3 separate regions of the Homo sapiens genome follow, and regions 1 and 2 are each linked to region 3. Evidence: promoter capture Hi-C in human tissues and cell types (Jung and others, 2019). All regions are on one chromosome and are shown on one strand. Each heading gives the region's core, a stretch centred on a gene start or on the middle of the fragment in contact. The rest is flanking DNA. Distances are from core to core; before and after follow the strand shown. Region 1 has its middle 38 kb from the start of DHRS7C. Region 2 overlaps USP43 (ubiquitin specific peptidase 43). Region 3 holds the start of DHRS7C (dehydrogenase/reductase 7C).

Region 1 (2,704 bases), core at 17-2,516, 38 kb before region 3:
CAGAAATGCAACATCAATGAAAATCACGCAAATTCCAGCGGCTCTCACAATGCTGAAAATTTCTACAGTGTGCTTCTAAAGTATTTCTGGTGGTCTCTAGGGAGAGGCCTCACAGGTGCCCATGAGCAAGACTGCCCTTGTTGGTGGCTGCCCCCATATACTTCCTCGTGCATGGAAGGGCCTCATCTCTATGCAAATTCTTGCAGGTGCATCATCCCCATCAGTGCTCCTGAACAGGTGTGTGTAGCTGGCATCACTGCTACGGTAGTAAGAACCATTAATGGAATTATGAATCTTGCTTATATATTGTCGCATGCCTTGCCAAACCTCTTCACATTTGATTATGTCAGGAGGTGAATAATTAAGCAGGATAAGGGTTCGGATAAAGGTGAAGGTCATGACGATCTCATTAGACCATCAAAGGGTCCAAATATTAATATGGGAACAGTACAATAAATACAGGACTTTTCATAAAAGTAATAACTATATGGCCGGGCACGGTGGCTCACGCCTGTAATCCTAGCACTTAGGGAGGCTGAGGCGGGTGGATCACGAGGTCAGGAGATCGAGACCATCCTGGCTAACACGGTGAAACCACATCTCTACTAAAAATACCAAAAAATTAGCTGGGCTTGGTGGTGGGCACCTGTAGCCCCTGTTACTCGGGAGGCTGACGCAGGAGAATTGCTTGAACCTTGGAGGCAGAGGTTGCAGTGAGCCAAGATCGTGCAGCTGCACTCCAGCCTGGGTGACACAGCCACACTCTGTCTCAAAAAAAAAAAGTAATAAATATATAATCAAGTATTATTTAAAATGTCAAGTTGATGGGTGCAGCACACCAACATGGCACATGTATGCATATGTAACAAACCTGCACATTGTGAACATGTACCCTAGAACTTAAAGTATAATAAAAAAAATTTAAAAAATAGATAATAAATATACACACGAGTATAATAAAATACAGAACTTTTCCTTCGGTAACACTCAGTAGTGTCTTAACAGATGCCCCTCCTGACTTTAAACATAGAGTTACCTCATTTAGCTAGAAAGATACTTGAAGTTTGAAGAAAAGCGTATTGCACATTTTATTTTAAAAAGTCACTAACATTCTGTTTTAAGTAAGTTTACCTTAGGCGTCCCAGTGTTTGGGGCATGCTTCTGAATGCTCGAATTGGGGGAATATTTTCCTCAAGTGGGTATTTATTTTTACCCTCCTCTGGGCTCATATTTCTTCTTTCAGAGAGCGCACAGGGATGAATTTGTCTGTTTGTTTCTTGTTTTTGGATTGTCCAGTGGAGAGGCAATACAGGTTTGACTCAGGGGACAGGAATGGCCTCACCATTCCTTGGAGGTAAGTGGGTCCCCTGATTGAGGGGAGTTTCTGTCTTGGCCAAGGGGCACCTGGACAAAGTCTTGATTTTCTTCCTGAAGCAACTGGATCTGCTGTCTTTCCCAGCACATCTGCATGTGGAATCCATCCCAGTTCCATATCCCTGCCCTCTCCTCTCAACAACATCTTGAAGGAGTCCTTTCTCTCATAGCTCAGGGGCAGGGGGCATTTTTGCAGACGGAGAGCTAGAGGTAGACAGGCTTGCTGAGGGCTGAATAGGTCTTGCCTTAGGATCCTGAGAGAAAAGGTGTTCCCAGAGCTGCCTCGTTTCCTTGGAAGACCTGTTCTTATGGGTCTTTTCTTTTCATTCTTTAGACTGAAGATTCTTCCTGGGCCCAAGGGAAAGGTAAGTGGAAACATTCTGAACAACACCCATTTTGGCATCCAGGACTCATTCGGCAACAAACAGGTGCTTTTACCCAAAGATATGGATGGGAGGACAAGAGAGGACCTGGGTTCTACCTATCGTCTATCTAACATCTATCTATCTATCTATCTATCTATCTATCTATCATCTATCTATTTATCTATCCATCCACCTATATATCTGTCTATCTGCCTATCCATCCATCCATCCATCCATCCATCCATCCATCCATCCATTAAGGAGTGGGAAAGGATAGAGATGGAAGAATGTTTTGTTTTGTTAACACAAATGCTGTCGAAAATTCTTTAGGGTGAGAGCAACACAATTGCAGAGTTACTGTTAGCATCAAGATGTGAGAATGTATTGTTGGGTTATAAATTTTACATTCTTAAGCATCAGACCAGTTCTAAAGAATCTTTTTATTTCCTCACAAGGTTCTTGCCTTACCTGACATTTTATGACAACAAAACTATGGTGGATGCTTATGTACAAGCTCCACAGTCCTTTGAGTCAGAATTCTGATTCTTAAACACACACACACACACACACACACACACACACACACACACACCTTAATAAAGATAAATGAATTAAAAGAATTAAATATTTGGAGATCATTATAAACAGGAGATGTATGGATGGCAGATAAATAATTCTTAAATCACATGAAACTTGCTTAAGTAACTAATTTACAATGCTGAGAAAGGCTTAGTCATCCACTTTAAAAAATTAAACCTTTCATAAAGAACACCAAATAAAGCAAGGGTTGAATAGCTACTGGACTTCTTAACCAACACCTTCATCCGAGTAGTTTTAGCTGGATGGTCTCTTCTCAGGATGCTCCAAGCCCAGGTCAGTTCTACCCTCTGCATTAGTGTGCTAGGGCTGCCATAGCAAAATGCCACAGACTGGGGTGGCTTAAGCAACAGAAATGAATTTTTCTC
Region 2 (2,877 bases), core at 128-2,627, 63 kb before region 3:
CATGTAAAACAAGGCATTTTAATGGTACAGTGACTGATGACTGAGAATTTCTTTCTTTTTTTTTTTGGAGATGGAGTCTTGCTCTGTCACCCAGGCTGGAGTGCAGTGGCATGATCTCAGCTCACTGCAACCTCCACCTCCACCTCCCGGGTTCAAGTGATTCTCCTGCCTCAGCCTCCTGAGTAGCTGGGATTATAGGCATGTGCCACCACGCCCAGCTAATTTTTGTATTTTAGTAGAGATGGGGTTTCACCATGTTGGTCAGGCTGGTCTCGAACTCCTGACCTTGTGACCCACCTGCCTCAGCCTCCCAAGACTGAGAATTTCTTAAGCAAAAATACACAACCTTGGTTGTACATATGTTCCTTTTAGAAATGTGGAGATATAGGAAAGAATTAAGAAAAAAAATCCATCACAAACAGCACTGCCATGGCCCTATCCACACCTTGTTTTTGGCATCTATTTCTCTATTCTTATTTGTATGTTTTCACATGCATGCATAATACATGCACGTGTATATATTTTTACAAGTTGTATAGGTTGGTGCAAAAGTAATTGTGGTTTTCACCATATTTTTTTAATTCCATTTTTTTTTTCTTTTTTAGCCCAGGGTAGGATATCTGAGATTCTTGCATTTGAAAGGTACAAGGACCTAATATGACCTAGAAAAGCAGGAACTTTTGCTGGGCATTCCGTTTCATAGGAATATTTAAAGATAGATGAAACTGATGTTCATTCTTAAGGCTAGATGCCCGTGAGACTGAGCTTTGCCAGGTGTCTGTGCTGCCCGGCATGTAGATACCTTCTTTGGCACTGGCTTACCCTGTGGCTTCAAACGTGTAAGTGGATATTGAGGAAGAGTGGGTGAAACCGTTGCTGTTCCCCAAAGGCAGGAACCCTATGTGGCTTCTTCACTGCTGTGTCTCCAGTGCCCAGCACAGTGCCTCCCACATCAGAGGTGCTCAGTGAACGTTAGATGACTGGCATTTCAGCTGTAGGGTGGCTTGTACACTGACAGTCTCTCTGTCTCTTTCAGGAGGGTTGGAGCCCAGGCGTTTGGTACGGGGCGTGAAAGGCAGAAGCATTAGCATGAAGGCACCCACCACTTCCCGAGCCAAGCAGGGACCATTCAAGACCATGCCTCTGCGGTGGTCCTTTGGATCCAAGGAGAAACCACCAGGTGCCTCCGTCGAGTTGGTGGAGTACTTGGAATCCAGACGAAGACCTCGGTCCACGAGCCAGTCCATTGTGTCGCTGTTGACGGGCACTGCGGGTGAGGATGAGAAGTCAGCATCGCCGAGGTCCAACGTCGCCCTTCCTGCTAACAGCGAAGATGGTGGGCGGGCCATTGAAAGAGGTCCAGCCGGGGTGCCCTGTCCCTCGGCTCAACCCAACCACTGTCTGGCCCCTGGAAACTCAGATGGTCCAAACACAGCAAGGAAACTCAAGGAAAATGCAGGGCAGGACATCAAGCTTCCCAGAAAGTTTGACCTGCCTCTCACTGTGATGCCTTCAGTGGAGCATGAGAAACCAGCTCGACCGGAGGGCCAGAAGGCCATGAACTGGAAGGAGAGCTTCCAGATGGGAAGCAAAAGCAGCCCACCCTCCCCCTATATGGGATTCTCTGGAAACAGCAAAGACAGTCGCCGAGGCACCTCTGAGCTAGACAGACCCCTGCAGGGGACACTCACCCTTCTGAGGTCCGTGTTTCGGAAGAAGGAGAACAGGAGGAATGAGAGGGCAGAGGTCTCTCCACAGGTGCCCCCCGTCTCCCTGGTGAGTGGCGGGCTGAGCCCTGCCATGGACGGGCAGGCTCCAGGCTCACCTCCTGCCCTCAGGATCCCAGAGGGCCTGGCCAGGGGCCTGGGCAGCCGGCTCGAGAGGGATGTCTGGTCAGCCCCCAGCTCTCTCCGCCTCCCTCGTAAAGCCAGCAGGGCCCCGAGAGGCAGTGCACTGGGCATGTCACAAAGGACTGTTCCAGGGGAGCAGGCTTCTTATGGCACCTTTCAGAGAGTCAAATATCACACTCTTTCTTTAGGTCGAAAGAAAACCTTACCGGAGTCCAGCTTTTGATGGAGCGTGTCAGTATTGTGTGACGCTGGCATTCTTGGGACTTTGCCAAGCAACTGTAGGCAGCTCATGTTGAGAATGGGTTTCCAGGAAACCCGTTGTCTTGTAATCTCTAAAAAAAAATTTTTTTTTTTTTGTGGTGGGGGGTCTCCATATCTAGACTTCCAACACCCAAGGTCCATATAACCCAAGGTCGAAAACCTTCCTGCATCATTGGGTGCTTTGCTACAGTTTGGCCACTAGAGGATGCTATTGGGTCAGTATTACCAGTTTCAGGGCAAGAACTGATATTTACTAAAGAGTTTTGGATGTGGGCAAACAAGATGAGGCTGGTTTAATAAGAATCTTCAATGTCATGTCAAATACTGTCAATGGCTTTTCCTTTTTCTTTCTTTTTTTTTTTTAAATTGTGGACTTAAAGAAAAATATTTTATTTTTAATGCTTTTCTGGGATAAGCATTAAAGATGCCAAAAAGAAAAAAAAAACAAAAGAATGATAGTGATGGTAAGGCAAGATTCTAGCAAAGAGAGATGGGAGATAAATGGCTGAGAGTTCAGGTGAATATTTAATATATTAAAAATTGTATTAAAGTTTTTCAAGGTATTTTAAAAATAACTATTTTGATACTAGAAAAAAAGTCCATTTTTTAATTTAAATATGAGATCTATGTACAATTTTAATAAAATCCTGTCCATGAAACACGCATGGCTGTCTGAATTATTCAAGTCTGATAAATGATCTTGTTTCATTTCTGCTGAGTAAACTTGGTTCGTTGCTATTGCTATCAGAAAGTAGTTACTTGAGTT
Region 3 (2,700 bases), core at 164-2,663:
GAGGGACTCTCGGGGCAATGCTCAGGACATAGTGGACTCAGTGGACACTTACTGAGTTACTAATGAATGTTTGGCTGTGTGGGATCTATGCTCTATTAAAAATAATAAAAACAACAGCAAAAGTTGCACTAACTATGTAACATATAAAGTTGTACTACCATTGTCTGGAAGGATAGAGTCAGAATCTTGCAAACTTAAGGACAATTACGGCCCCTCATGTCATAGATGTCACCAGCAGAAGGGCCTCTCTGAGGTGATATAATTCAGGAGTTGCAAATGCAAATGCCTTCAATGCCAGAAAGTGTAATGATTGAAAGAATCAGGCCAAGTGTGATGCAATAGGGATGGGTGGGGTGTGTGGCCCACTAGCGTGGGCATGTTTTGCCTATATGTGTTCATGATCATCATTACTAACCCTTGAGTGATATCCACTGTAGCTCCAGGTACTGTTCTAAGTGCTATCCATCTATGAACTCGTTTATTCCTCACAATGGCAGCATGAGGTAGAGACTGCTGTTATCCTCGCCTTACAGATGAGAAGTTTAAGGCAGAGAAGTGAAGTAACCAGCTAGTCATTGCTGGAGCCAGGAACTGAACCCAGCTCCTGAGTCTGGGCTCACAACCAGTACATTGCCCCAGCTAAAGGCTTTGAATTTTCAAAATTTCTGGAAACCCCATGAAGCCAAAACAAATCACATCTGCAGACCAGTTTTAGCCCTTAGGCTGTGAGTTTGCAACCCTAGATATTCCACCACCCTCATTTATCAGGAATCTGCAGCCTCCAAAAGATGGGAAACTTGCTGGTTAATGATAGAAGCTGGGAGAGAACACAGGATCGATCCCCTCCCACCGAGCAGGTTTGCCCACACAGCGCCCTGCCGCCCTGCCACCCTGCCATCCTGCCAGTCCCTGGGGGCAGAAATGGGCACAGGTGGGAGCAAAGCCAGCTTACCCTTGCCCAGTCCTGAGATGGCATCGGTGATCACCACCACTTTGTTCTGCACAGCTGACTTTGACCACAGCCTGGACACCTCTTGGTAAATGAAGAGGAGGCCGCTGATTCCCAGCAGCAGCAGGGGGAGCATCAGCATGGCCATGACTCCCATCTTGTTCTGGGGGACAACGGAGTAAAAGGGGATTGGCTTTGCAAAGAGACGCTGATCAGGACTCCCAGGGCAGGGGGAGGCCCAAGGCTGCAGGGAGCTCAGCTCTGTGCAAGCCTCCAAGCTGAACACCCAGTGGGCGTGCTAATCCCCAAATGTTCAACAAATAGGAAGTTACTCACAGTGTCTCCGAAAGCAGACCGAATCCAGGGGGCCTGCCCTCCCCAGTGGTTAATTACAAACTTAATTAAAATGGGTCTGCATTTTTGGAAGAAAATCCATGTGTTAAGGCCACTTGCTTGGGCCCTAATGGTTATTTATAGCTTTCAGTTGCACTAAAAGGCTGTCAGGGTAAATATAGTGTCTATTCTGATATTCAGGAACACATGCTGGCCGGGTCTGATTTCAGGGCTCTTGCCAAAGCTCTCCTGGCTTGCCTGAGTATTAGAGGTTTCCTCTGCAGTTTGGGACTGAGCACGAGGGATCCAAACCTGGGATTTTCAGCACAAACATCCTTGCCCTCACTTCCGGTAACCCTCGTAATCAGGTAGCTTCCAGGTAGTTTGGATGCATGTGGCAGAAGACCATCTGGCCTTTGCTTTCTAATTGGAGATGAAAAGCATAGAAAACTGCTAAACAGAATGAAGCCTTTTGCAGAAAGAGCCACTGGGAGGTGTGACAGGAAATATCAGAAAGAGCACACTCTTGAGAGTGTTTCTCACCTCTCTGAGCCTTAGCTTCCCTGTCTGTAAAATGGGCAGGACCAATGGGAGGACAAACCATACTGCACAGTGTGGGCCTAGCATAGATCCCGGGCCGTAGGAAGGTAACTACTGTTATCTTTAGCGGTTGAGGATACTAAGAATTTATCCCAAATGTGAAATATTTTCATTACATAAGGAAACTCAGTAGGATTAGAACTGGAGAGACAGAAACCCAGTTCAAGTACTGGAGCCATCCCAAACCAGAAGGCCAATCACAATCAGGTCCTAATTTGTGCGGTAAACAGCATTGAGCCAATCAGGAGTAGGACTAAGAGCAGTGTGTGTGCATGTGTGTGTGTGCGCGCATGTGTGTGTGTGCATGTGTGTGTGCGTGTGTGCGTGCGTGTGTGTGTGCGCACCTGTGTGTGTGCACGTGTGTGTGTGTGTGTGTGTGCGTATGTGGGGGGGGTAAAGAAGACTGTATTTCTTTCTTGGAAATTAGAAATAACCAGGAAGATTAAAAAAGTCCCAGAATTTTATTGACACTTAATGTACATATTAGAAACACACACGTAAATGTAGAGCTTGATGAATCTTCATAGACTGAATATATTCACGTGACCAGCATGCAGATCAAGAAACAGAACATTGCCAACATGCCTCATCATGTCTCTCTCCAGCCCTGAGGGTAGCTACTTCCTAACTTTTAAAAGCGTATATACAGTTTTACCTGTATGTGTATTTTCTTTGCTCAAACAACCTCTTGTGTAAAGTTTTTCTTTTTTTTTTTTTTTTTGAGACAGTCTTGCTCTGTCACTAGGCTGAGGTGCAGTGGCACGATCTCGGCTCACCGCAACCTCCACCTCCTGGGTTCAAGCAATTCCCCTGCCTCA

What was found. Contacts are between HindIII fragments. The study calls those that stand out against the background at their distance.
Region 1: a contact is called between a fragment that was not itself captured here and the fragment with the promoter of DHRS7C in region 3, in 3 of the 25 tissues and cell types used here (liver, pancreas and spleen).
Region 2: a fragment that was not itself captured here is called in contact with the fragment with the promoter of DHRS7C in region 3 in 1 of the 25 tissues and cell types used here (mesendoderm cells).

What each region holds. Positions count from the first base shown.
Region 1 is chr17:9,752,386-9,755,089 of GRCh38, forward strand. No RefSeq gene overlaps it. Among named protein-coding and RNA genes, the nearest start is that of DHRS7C, 38 kb to the right of the region's middle. The HindIII fragment of the contact is 7,521 bases long and covers 1-2,704 here.
Region 2 is chr17:9,726,918-9,729,794 of GRCh38, forward strand. USP43 (ubiquitin specific peptidase 43) reads left to right here. Exons shown (of 15, transcript NM_153210.5): 15 at 1,037-2,770. The coding sequence ends at 2,073. Among named protein-coding and RNA genes, the nearest start is that of DHRS7C, 63 kb to the right of the region's middle. RefSeq lists enhancers at 708-1,208, 1,209-1,709. The HindIII fragment of the contact is 3,953 bases long and covers 1-2,877 here.
Region 3 is chr17:9,790,179-9,792,878 of GRCh38, forward strand. DHRS7C (dehydrogenase/reductase 7C) reads right to left here and starts at 1,414. Exons shown (of 6, transcript NM_001105571.3): 1 at 953-1,414. The coding sequence starts at 1,106. The HindIII fragment of the contact is 22,922 bases long and covers 1-2,700 here.